Regions from separate parts of the Homo sapiens genome. Here region 1 is linked to region 2. Evidence: promoter capture Hi-C in 16 types of primary human blood cells and fetal thymus (Javierre and others, 2016). All regions are on one chromosome and are shown on one strand. Each heading gives the region's core, a stretch centred on a gene start or on the middle of the fragment in contact. The rest is flanking DNA. Distances are from core to core; before and after follow the strand shown. Region 1 overlaps CYP4F8 (cytochrome P450 family 4 subfamily F member 8). Region 2 holds the start of CIB3 (calcium and integrin binding family member 3).

Region 1 (6,506 bases), core at 2,588-5,087, 550 kb before region 2:
ATAAGGGTTTATATTTGCTAACAAATCTGTGGGACTGTTGGCCAGCCCTTCTGCATGTGGATAGGATCCCTCATGGTATAAGAGCAGCTGTGGGTCAGGTAGGCAGCTTTGCTTGTGCCAGCTCAGTTCTCTCACATATTTGGAGCTTTGCTGGCTTCTGGCTGATTTAGGATGGCCTCAGCTGGGACACCTGGACTTTTCTCCATGTGATTCTCTGCCTCTAGATGACACCCCAGGATTGCTCACATGGCAGAGACAGGATTCCAAGGCAGTGAGAGGAGGATACAATGCTTCTCACTAGTTATTATTATTTATTTTATTTTTGAGATGAAGTCTCGCTTTGTCTCCCAGGCTGGAGTGCAGTGGTGCGATCTTGGCTCTCTGCAACCCCCGCCTCAAGCAATTCTCCTGTCTTAGCCTCGTGGGTAGATGGAATTACAGGCGCCCACCACCATGCCCAACTAATTTTTTGTATCTTCAGTAGAGACAGGGTTTCACCATGTTGGGCAGGCTGGTCTTGAACTCCTGACGTCAAGTGATCTGCCCTCCTCGGCCTCACAAAATGCTGGAATTACAGGCATGGGCTGCTGCACCCAGTCAACTTCTCACTAGTTATGGCCTTATCATTTTCACCACATTCTATTGGCCAAAAAAAGTAAAACGTCCACCATGAATCAATGTGGGGCAAAATAGGCTCCATCTCTTAATGGAAGTTGCTAAAAAATCACATTGCAAAAGATGTGGATGCAGGGAGAAGAGAAGAAATGGAGCCAAGCGTTTTGTGAAACGACTAGGATTTTTTTTTCTCCTGTGAGCTAATAAATTAGCTTGTTACTTTTGCATGGATTCTGCCAGAAGACACGAGACTTCTGGGTCAAAGACAAAAGTTTATTACTCATGTCTCAGCAAGTGGCATGTGCATCTTGTTGGTTTGGATCCTTTCTCTAAGCCACCCAAATTCCCTGGGGTGATAAGGTGGGCTTCTATAGATGCCTGCCATGTAGTATATTTGCATGATGGGGAGGAGCATTAGGCTTAGAGAATCAGCTTTTAGAGCAAGCAGAATAAGCCTAACGTGTGTCCCAGAGGAGCCATTACCTTATACCCCAAGGCTGTTCTCTGCAAACACAATGCTGAGAAATAGCCCAGATTAAGAACCTCAGGGTTGACCGGGTGTGGTGGCTCATGCTTGTAATCCCAGCACATTGGTATCACTTGAGGTCAGGAGTTCGAGACCAGCCTGGCCAACATGGCAAAACCCTGTCTCTACTAAAAATACAAAAATTAGCAGGGCGTGGTGGTGCGTGCCTGTAACCCCAGCTACTCAGGAGGCTGAGACAGGAGAATTGCTTGAACCCAGCAGGCAGAGGTTGCAGTGAGCCAAGACTGTGCCACTGCACTCCAGCCTGGGCAACAGAACGAGACTCCATCTCAAAAACTAGCAAACAAACAAAACAAACAAACAACAACAACAACAAAACTTCAGAGTTTTGCATTCTTGGCATGCTCAGAAAAAAATGTTCAGGGGGATCACAGGGACTTTTTGTAATCAATTTATAACAATGAAGATGAATCAAGATAATATTTATTGAGAACTCATCATATGACAGAAATGATGTAATATGCCTATTCCATGGTGTATGTGGTCTCATTTAATTTACACCGCCTTGTGAAGTAGAGGATATTTTCCACCCTCTCCCCCATGCCATGACAAATGGTGAAACTGAGGGCCAGAGAGGTTAGAGAGATTTCCCAAGTTCACCCAGCTTGTCAGTGAGTCTAAGAGTGGGGGAAAAGGGGTTCTAGCCTGGCTCCCTGGCATCAAAGCAGGTCATCTTGATTGCTATTGAGGATTTGACAGGTGAGACCTAGAGGAGGGCTGTGAGTTGACCAAGGGTACACACAGCTTAGGAATCACAGCTGGGGCTTGAACCCAGCCATGGGATCTTCATCTCCTAATAGTAACAGCTTCCACTCTCACCCAAGCGTAGTCCTCCCTGAGGATGGGGGTCTGGGACAGAAAACCAGGAGCATGCCTCTGGGGGAGTCCATCCTGGTGGTTGGGGTTGCAGGGGGACTCAGAGGAGCCAAGGCCTGGCCCCAGCCCTGCTCCCTTCTCTGGCCAGGCCAAGTGGCAACGCCTGGCCATGGAGGGCAGCACCTGTCTGGATGTGTTTGAGCACATCAGCCTTATGACCCTGGACAGTCTGCAGAAATGCATCTTCAGCTTTGACAGCAATTGTCAGGAGTGAGTTCTTGCCCAGGGCCTGGGAACATGGGATGGAGTGGGGGTGTGGGTGTGGGGAGAGCAAAGCCCAGGGAGACAAGAAGAGCCTTCCTGGAGAGATGATGAGAACTAGGCATTGAAGGACAAAGAAGGAGAGAAGGAGAGAGAGAGAGAGCGAGAGAAAGAGAAGTTTCCTCCAAACAAGTGGAACTGTTTGGGTCAAGGCAAGGAGGCTAAGATGAACAGAGCATGTGCAACAGGCAGTTGGGAGACACTTGGAAATGAAGGTGGAGGGGTTGGCAGTTAACTAGATCTTAAGGATCTTGAAAAGTCAGACAAAGGGAGATGCATTTTATCCAAGGTTCCTAAGGAGCCATGGAGGTGTTTGAGCAGATGAGAGACATGGTCAGTACTGAGCTTGGACACTGGACTCTATGGGACTCTATGGAAGATTGACTGTCATGTAGACACAGCATGCAAGGATGCCAGGGAGAGGAGGTCTGAGTTTGGTGGAGAAAATGGGGCAGATTTGGGAGAAACTGAGTAATAATAGGCAGGAGCAGATGTTTTATAAGACAGAGAGAGGAGATGCCCATGATGGCCAAGCTGTGCCCTGGGGACCTGGGGCAGGAGGCAGCTCACAGAGAGTGGGAGGCAGAGAGTGAAGTGCGCTTGCAGGACACCCCTTTCTGCATGGAATGTGGTCCTGGGATTCTGGCTGGAAGGTGCTCCCAGGCTTTCATGTGGGTAAGGAGCTGCTTCCTCTCTCTGGACTGGCCCTGCAGGAAGCCCAGTGAATATATTACTGCGATCATGGAGCTCAGTGCCCTTGTAGTGAAACGGAATAACCAGTTCTTCCGGTACAAGGACTTCCTGTACTTCCTCACTCCCTGTGGACGGCGCTTCCACAGGGCCTGCAGACTGGTGCACGACTTCACAGATGCCGTCATCCAGGAGCGGCGCCGCACCCTCACTAGCCAGGGTGTTGATGACTTCCTCCAAGCCAAGGCCAAGTCCAAGACTTTGGACTTTATTGATGTGCTCCTGCTGAGCGAGGTGGGCCTCTCTGGGATCTGAATTCAAGAGGTAAAATGGAGCTTCAGGTCAAATGTCAGATTGAAGGACCGGACTTGATACAGAGGGCACTAAGGAGCCATGGAAGGTGCTCGAAGAAGGGAGGGACAAGTCAGATAAATTTTAGAGGTGATTGCATAGAAAGCTTCCTGGGAAGAACAAACAGGAGGTCGGAAGGAAGCATGTGGGGGTAGATCTGGAGGTGACAAGGGAGGGATCCTTCTGGGATAATGGGTCTTCAGAGACTGTTTCAGTTTAGACTCCAGTGACCCCAGAACTAGTGTGATTGGGGTTCTTGTCTCCAGGATAAAAATGGTAAAGAGTTGTCAGATGAGGACATAAGAGCAGAAGCTGACACTTTCATGTTTGGAGGTGAGTGTCCCAGTCTGGGGCTACAGTGGGGACAGGGGTCTCTCCACTCCAGGGAAGTGGAGGGCCGGCCCTGAATCACTTCATTCTGCCCAACCTCCCCCTCCCCTCAACCTTCCTGAGAGCCTCAATGTATGGGCGCTGTCCACCCTCTGGGTGCTGAAGCAGCCCAGAGACTCAAGCCTGCCTGGCTGACCCTCAGGCCATGACACCACGGCCAGTGGCCTCTCCTGGGTCTTGTACAACCTCGCGAGGCACCCAGAATACCAAGAACGCTGCCGGCAGGAGGTGCAAGAGCTTCTGAAGGACCGTGAGCCTAAAGAGATTGAATGGTGAGTGCAGGTGCTGGTGGCTCTGCCTTTCTGCCTTTCTGAGTCCTTCTCGTTGGTTCTTCTCCCCAGGTGGGGGAAAAGGGGAGGATCTTTTTGATGATTCTGCCATTGTTGCCTAGTGGGAATAGGAGTAGAGCCCAGAAACAGGCTAGCAAGGGTAACATTGCATGCTTTGGGGACAGAATGGTCTGGGAGTCCATATTTATTTCCCCACTAACTTGCTATGCAAGCTTAGTAAAATCAATTCCCTTTTCTGAACAACTTTTCTCCTTTGTAAATTGGGGGTGTGGGGAATTGCTGTCCCACAGGGCTGCTTGGAGAATTAACGGCAAATACCGCAATGACTTTTGGACCAATCTAATATTATGATTTATCAAAACATTCTCTTATCAACGCGTGTTTTTATACTTTCCAGCCTTTTGGTATAAAAGACATGATGTGTTGAATATCGGTGTACGATGATCATTGCTGACATGTCATCTTTGTAGAGCAGATTCCTAGAAGTGCAACTGCTGAGCCAAAGACCATTTGAGTTTTACAATTCAATAGCTCTTGGGAAATCTACTGCTATACACAGATTTTGAGAATACCAAATTTCCTCATAACCTCCCCAGAAGTGCCTATTATGAAACTAAAACATTTGCCAATCTGATAGATGCAATATAATATTTTGTTATTTTAATGAACATAACTTTAAATGTGGGTAAAGTTGAGCACTGTTTTCACCTGCCGATGAGCCATCCATATCTATTTTTCTGTGAAGTCAGTTTTTGCGTAATTTGTTTTTTCTACTTTGGGTCGTACTAGTTTTCTTATTTACTTATAAAAACTCTTTACATATTAAGAAAATTATTTCTTTTTTCTGTTATGCAAAATGTTGCCTCGCATTGTCTTGGACTTTATTTTTATTTTTGGTTCATTTATTTGTCACCAAATTTATTAATTTTTTCTTTTATAATTCCTGTTTGTGTTTCTTAAAAAAATATTTAAAAACCATTTTATACTCTAATAGTAAAATGCAAAACTCTTGTTTGACTTATTTTAATAGGCTTATATATTTTTAAAAGTTTAACATTTTATCAATATTTTTCACATTTAGAAATTTTTCCCTTTGAAATCTATGTTGGAATCTATTTTTTCTCCAAATGTCTAATTGTCCCAACCAAGTTTAATGAATATTTTGTCCTTGTGTCATGATTCTAAATAACAACAAATTCACAAGAAACTATGTGTGTGTATATATATATATATAGTGTATATATATAGTGTATATATATATAGTGTTTGTGTATATATATATACACACACACATACTATATATAGTGTATACACTATATATATATGTATTTTAAGGCAACAAATAAAACCATATATATATATGCCTATCTTAGGCATGTATGTATATATATGGTTTTATTTGTTGCCTTCATTTTGTTCCATTTATTATGTAGTCCTACATGAGCAGCATGAAGTCTACTTTTAAAAACACTTTAATATTTGGTAGAGTTTGTTCTGTCTCATTACTTTGTGTTTACAGTTTTTTTTCCCTCGAGTTCCTATTTTTTTCCATTTGAACTCTGTGATCAGGTTAGCCAGTTTGACAAATACTTTTGAAAATGTTAATTAATAAATTTTTTGGACCTTAGGTGCTAATGTTTGAGTTAACGATGCTCTTCAATTCATGGCAAATTCTCGTCATTTTTCTATACAATACGTATTTCTTCCCATTTATCTCAAATCTCTCCTTCCAGCTCTCCATCAGTATGATTACAAAATGGTGGATACTTTTATCTGTAAAACTTGTTGTTGGGGTGGATACATTTTAAAATTCTATATATGTTTTTATTTCACAGATGTTGTGCTGGTTCTTACCTTTTCAGAAATATAGCACTATGATTTGTGCTACGTTTGCAGCACCGTGGTTGCATGCTATGATTTGTGCTATATAAATGTAGCACTATGATTTGCAGCACCGTGGTTCTAAGTACATTTATTCTCTTGCTTTTAGCTATGATCTAGTCCTTTTCTCTTCAGTTCTGTAGTGGATACCTGGACTGCTTCTATCTCTCCAGTGCAATGACCATCTTTGTGCATATCTCTTTATCTGCATGTCTGATAATTTCTCTGGGATCTACAGTTGGGAACCAGCTTGCTGGGCTGTAAAACACACATCTTTCCTTGGCCATGTCCTGGAGGTTGCCTTCCATATTGGCAGCTTCTGTGCACCCCACTGTCAGTGCATGTGACCCCTCTACCCACACCTCAGCCAACCCTTGGCAACACCTACCTTTGGCCATTCTAGCCTCGAATAGATGTGAAGTGGTACCTCGTTGTCAGCTAGCTTCCATTTCTATGACAGCTAGTGACTTTGCGCATCTCCTCTTACATTTCTCATGTTTGAGCATCCATGAATTCTTAGATCAAATCCTTTGTCTACTTTTCACTTGGGTTACCTGTTCGTTCTCTTGTAGATTTGCAGGAATTCCTAACATATTCAGATATTG
Region 2 (5,986 bases), core at 654-3,153:
CTGTGCCTTGGTTATTCTATCTGATAAGCAAGAAGCTTGGGACAGACAAAATGTCTGTCCTTGGGGCCTTGGGGCTCTGTGCATTTACCCTTCAGCCTGGGATCAGCCCCGCCCTGTCTGAGCCTCAGTTTCCCCATCAGTAATTTGATCGTGATGGCCGAGGTGACCCTGCAAGCTGTCCTCACCCAAACAATGGGGCTCACTAGTAAAAGGTGTGGCCATCAATAATGGATGTCCTGTTACTACACAACTGGGGCCTTGGCCCCGATCACACTGCAGCTGAACCCTGGCCAGCTTGGGTTTCATAGCTCCAAGTTCATGGGTCGGGGCCCCTGGGCAATGGCCCCACAGGCCGAGTGATGATGTGGGATACTCATCTGTGCCCATCGTGCTGGGTCACGCCAGGGACCTGCAGCAGCCTTGGGCCACCTCCTCACACCCTCATCTTAATGCCAAGCCCACAACCCAGACTGGGCTCTGGACTTTGCACCTGGGCTCCCAGCCTCAAGTCCCAGTCTCAGGAGAATCTTTATCTTTCATTTTGTTTTTCTGAGGCAGAGTCTAGCTCTGTCACCCAGGCTGGAGCACAGTGGCGTGATCTCGGCTCACTGCAACCTCCACCTCCCAGGTTCAAGCAATTCTCCTGCCTCAGCCTCTTGAGTAGCTGGGATTACAGGCACCCACCACCTCGCCCAGCTGATTTTTGTATTATTAGCAGAGATGGGGTTTCACCATGTTGGCCAGGCTGATCTTAAACTCCTGACCTCAGGTGATCCACCCACCTTGTCCTCCCAAAGTGCTGGGATTACAGGCATGAGCCACCGCGCCCAGCCTCAGGAGAATCTTTCTAACGTGCTGATGGTCTCTCCCCTGCTCATGCATGCTCCATAGCTCCCTGCCACCCTTGGGAGAAAGCCCAAGCTCATCAGCCTAGAGACTGGGACAGTATGACAAGATGTGACTTGTCAGCTTCTCCATCTCTGCCTCTGTCCACTGACCACACCTGCCCCCCTTCCCCATTTGAGTCCCAACAAATTGGAAATACCAGTTGGGCATGGTGGCTCACACCTGTAATCCCAGCACTTTGGGAGGCTGAGGCAGGGGGATCGCTTGAGCCCAAGGGTTTAAGACCAGCCTGGGCAACATAGTGAGAGCCCCATCTCTATAAAAAAATACAAAAATGAGGTACATGTGGTGGCTCGCACCAGTGGTCCTAGCTACTCGAGAGGCTGAGGTGGGAGGATCACCTGACCTTGGGAGATCGAGCCTGCAATGAGCCATGATTGCACCACTGCACTCCAGCCCAGGCAATAGAGACAGACCCTGTCTCAAAAAAAAAGAAAAGAAGGAAGGAAGGAAGGAAGGGAGGGAGGGAGGGAGAGAGAGAGAGAAAAGAGAAAGAAAGAAAGAAAGACTACTTACACACACACACACACACACACACACACACACACACACACACACCAAATTGCAAATATCCTCCAGCAATGAATAGAAAGTTGTTTTTCCAGATCTTCTCTCCCTTCCTCCCTGGACTGACCTCATGATCTCCTTCCTTGTGAAAAATGTGCAGTCCTGTGGAGAGAGGTGTTGTCTTAACCCGAACCCTGCCTCTGGGGCCTCCTCCCACGGCCTCCTCCCTCCACCCCACACTCACACAGATGGCCTGATGCTGCCACACACAGAGCAGAACCAGGAACCCAGGCGGACGGTACACCCAGATGAAGGCATTCTGTTCCCATTTCCCAGACCACGGAACCAAAGTTGTCAAACCCACTGAGGACCCATCCTGCCCCCCTCTACCTGATACGCTTCCAGCTGCTCGTGTGTGAAGACTGTCTGCTTGTTGCCCATGGTGTGAACCACAGCCCAGACTTGGGGATGCACCCCAAAGGCTCCCAGCTTCCTCGGGGCCACACGGGTTGCCAGGCTGTTGTGTACCAGTGTCTGGGCAAATCTCCCTGCCCTGGCTGTCACCCACCCACCTACGCCATCACCCCCTGCTTGATGAGACTCAAATTACAGCCAGGCTCTCTGGACAACAGCCTGAATGTGTCCATGGGTAAGGATAAGGGCTGTGGGATGTCACAGAGAAGACCTCAGTGGGGAGGCCACATCTGCCACCACAAGGTGAGGCTGGGGTTATGGGGCACACTCAAGAGACAGGCAGGGTATACAGAAGGGCTATGGGCACACTGCAGCTCAAATCCCAGCTCTCTGCCCACTAGCTGTGTGGCCCTGGGCAAGTCACCTGACTTCTCTGAACCTCATTCATGAGATGAAAATTACATTATACCTACCTCATAGGGTCATTCTCAGGATCTGAGATTTAAAAAAAAAAAAAAAAGGTTTTGACTGGGCAAGGTGGCTCACACCTGTAATCCCAGCACTTTGGGAGGGCCAGGCAGGCGGATCACCTGAGGTCAGGAGTTCAAGACCAGCCTGGCCAACACGGCAAAACCCCATCTCTACTAAAAATACAAAAATTAGCTTGGCATTGTGACACATGCCTGTAATCCCAGCTACTCCAGAGACTGAGGCAGGAGAATTGCTTGAACCCAGGAGGTGGAGGTTGCAGTGAGCCGAGATCCCGCCATTGCACTCCAGACTGGGTGACAGAGTAAGACTCCATCTCCAAAAAAAAAAAAAAGGTTTTGGCTGGGCGAGGTGGCTCATACCTGTAATCCCAGCACTTTAGGAGGACAAAGCATGAGATTCACTTGAGGCCAGGAGTTCAAGATCAGCTTGGGCAGCATGGCAAGGCCCTATCTCTACTAAAAATACAAAAATTAGCTGGATGTGGTGGTGCATGCCTGTGGTCCCAGCTACTCAGGAGGCTGAGGTGGGAGGATTGCTTGAGCCCAGGAGTTTGAGGCTGCAGTGAGCCATGATTGCATCACTGCATTGGGAACATAATGGTGAACAAGCTAGATGAAGTTCTGGGGTGTGCATTGACATTATTATTTTATTACATTTTATTTTTTTGAGACAGTCTCACTCTGTTGCCCAGGCTGGAGTGCAGTGGTGTGATCTCGGTTCACTGCAATCTCTGCCTCCCAGGTTCAAGTGATTCTCCTGCCTCAGCATCCCAGGTAGCTGGGACCACAGGTGTCCACCATGCCAAGCTAATTTTTTTTGTATTTTTTTTTTTTGAGACGGAGTCTCGCTCTGTCACCCAGTCTAGGGTGCAGTGGCGTGATCTCGGCTCACTGCAAGCTCCACCTCCCGAGTTCAGGCCATTCTCCTGCCTCAGCCTCCCGAGTAGCTGGGATTATTACAGGCGCCCACCACCACGCCTGGCTAAGTTTTGTATTTTTAGTAGAGACAGAGTTTCACTATGTTGGCCAGGCTGGTCTCGAACTCCTGACCTCAGGTGATCCACCCGCCTCGGCCTCCCAAAGTGCTGGAATTACATGTGTGAGCCACCTCGCCCGGCCCAAAGGGCAGATCTAATGTAGCAGCTACCAACTTTATTAAGGCCCAGAATCCTCTTGGGTGGAGAATCTGAGAGTCTAAATTTCTTAGCCTGGCCCTCCATGCCCTTCTCACTTTGGGTCTCACCTGTGTTTTCTCTACCTGGCCTGGACTATTGCAATGTTTCCCAGCAGGCTTTCCTGCCTCGGCCTCATCAAGCATCCTCTGCCAAATCTGTGCAGTCATCTTGTAAAATGTGACCCTGATCAGGCTTGAAAGATGCCTCAAGGATGACTTTTTTTTTTTTTTGAGACAGGGTCTCACTCTGTCACCCAGGCTGGAGAGCAGTGATACAATCATGGCTCACTGCAGCGACCCTCCTTCCTCAGCCTCCCAGGTAGCTGGCACTAGAGGCACATGCTGCCACATCCGGCTAATTTTTTTTTTTTTGTATTTTTTGTGGAGACAGGGTCTGTCTATGTTGCCCAGGCTGGTCTTGAACACCTGGCCTCAAGTGATCTACCCACCTTAGCCTCCCAAAGTGCTGGGATTACAGGCATGAACCACCATGCCCAGCCATCCAAGAATAACTTTCAAAAAATAAACAATATCAAGTGTTGGTGAGGGTATGGAGCAACTGGAATGCTCATACATTGCTGGTGTTGATGCAAAATGGTATAGACACTCTGGAAAATAGGTTGGCTGGGTTTTTTTTAAATAGAATTAAACTTAACCTTACCACAAGATTCAGGGCCTGGTATGGTGGCTCATGCCTGTAATCCCAGCACTTTGGGAGGCCAAGGCAAGAGGACCACTTTAGCCCAGGAGTTGGAGACCAGCCTAGGCAACATGGTGAAGCCCCATCTCTACAAAAATACAAAAATTAGCCAGGTTTGGTGGTATCCAGCTACTTGGGAGGTTTGCTTGAGGTAGGGAGGTCGAGGATGAAGTGAGCTATGATCACTCCACTGTACTGCACTCCAGCCTGGGAGACAGAGTGAGATCCTGTCTCAAAAAAAAAAAAAAAAAAAGACTCCTGGGTGTTTACCCAAGGGAAATAAAAACCTATGTTCAACTGAGAGTGACCCCTAATGTAAACTATCCACTAACCACTGTGGGTGATAATGATGTATCAGTGTCAGTTCATCAATTGTAACAGACTAGCTACTGTCATGCACTTGCATGTGGAGGATGTTGATTGTAGGGGAAGCTATACAAGTATGAAAGCAGCAGGTGTACGGGAAATCTCTGTACCTTCTGATCAATTTTGCTGTGAAACTAAGACTGCTCTAAAAAAATAAAGTATAGTGTAAAAAAAAAATTTAAACTAGGTTCACACAAAAACCTGTCATGCCCACAGAATGGGACAAATGCTCAGTGCTCAAGTCATTTATATAAAATGGCATAATATTTGCATATAGCCTGTGCACATCTTCCATACACTTTATTTATTTATTTATTTATTTTTATTTTACTTTTTCGAGTTGGAGTCTGGCTCTGTCACCCAGGCTGGAGTGCAGTGGCGTAATCTCAGCCCACTGCAACCTCTGCCTCCTAGGTTCAAGCAATTCTCCTGCCTCAGCCTCCCTAGTAGCTGGGATTACAGGTGCACACCACTGTGTCCAGCTAATTTTTATATTTTTAGTAGAGACGGGGTTTTGCCATGTTGGCCAGGCTGGTCACAAACTCCTGACCTCAAGTGATCCGGCCCACCTTGGCCTCTCAAAATGCTGGGATTACATGGGCCACCATGCCCGGCCCTCCATAGACTTTAAATTATCTCTAAATTATGTATAATATCTAATGAAATATAAATGCTACATAAATAATTGTTACACATTTTTATTTGTATTCTTTTTATTGTTGTATTATTTTTATTTTATTGGTTCCAGGTATTTTCACTCCGTGGTTTATTGAATCCATGGATAAGGAAACTGGATATGAAGGGCTAACTGTATTTGTGAATCATATATCTCATAAGGAACTACTATTCAGAATATATAAAGAACTCTCAGGGCCGGGCGCACGCCTGTAATCCCAGCACTTTGGGAGAATGAGGTGGGTGGATCACCTGAGGTCAGGAGTTAGAGACCAGCCTGGCCAACATAGTGAAACCCTGTCTCTACTAAAAATACAAAAAATTAGCCAGGTGTGGTGGTGGGCGCCTGTAATCCCAGCTACTCGGGAGGCTGAGACAGGAAAATCGCTTGAACCTGGGAGGGGGAGGTTGCAGTGAGCTGAGATCGTGCCACTGCACTCCAGCCTGGGCAACAAGAGCGAGACTCTATCTCGAAAAAAACCAAAAAACAAAACCCACGATAAAAACTAAGAACTCTTACATCTCAAAACTAGAAAGACAACCCAAATAAAAACATTATGCTGATCAAGGTAACTTTTGCAAAAAAGAGAAAAGAAGAAAACAAAAACATTATGTTGAGTGAAAGAAGCTAGAGATGAACAGTCCCATATAGTGTGATTCTATTTACATGAAATGTGCACACCACCACACCTGGCTAATTTTTTAAATTTTTGTAGAGATGGGATCTCACCATGTCGTTCAGACTCGTCTCTA

Evidence for each region. Contacts are between HindIII fragments. The CHiCAGO score rates a contact against its expected background, and 5 or more counts as called.
Region 1: a fragment that was not itself captured here is called in contact with the fragment with the promoter of CIB3 in region 2 in 3 of 17 cell types (naive CD8 T cells, total CD8 T cells and total CD4 T cells); the score reaches 8.8 in naive CD8 T cells.

Annotation. Positions count from the first base shown.
Region 1 is chr19:15,620,093-15,626,598 of GRCh38, forward strand. CYP4F8 (cytochrome P450 family 4 subfamily F member 8) reads left to right here. Exons shown (of 13, transcript NM_007253.4): 6 at 2,127-2,248; 7 at 3,013-3,283; 8 at 3,607-3,673; 9 at 3,873-4,002. Among named protein-coding and RNA genes, the nearest start is that of CYP4F8, 8.1 kb to the left of the region's middle. The HindIII fragment of the contact is 786 bases long and covers 3,445-4,230 here.
Region 2 is chr19:16,171,622-16,177,607 of GRCh38, forward strand. It overlaps CIB3 (calcium and integrin binding family member 3), which reads right to left and starts at 1,904. Exons shown (of 6, transcript NM_054113.4): 1 at 1,804-1,904; 2 at 1,541-1,575. The coding sequence starts at 1,854. The HindIII fragment of the contact is 19,742 bases long and covers 34-5,986 here.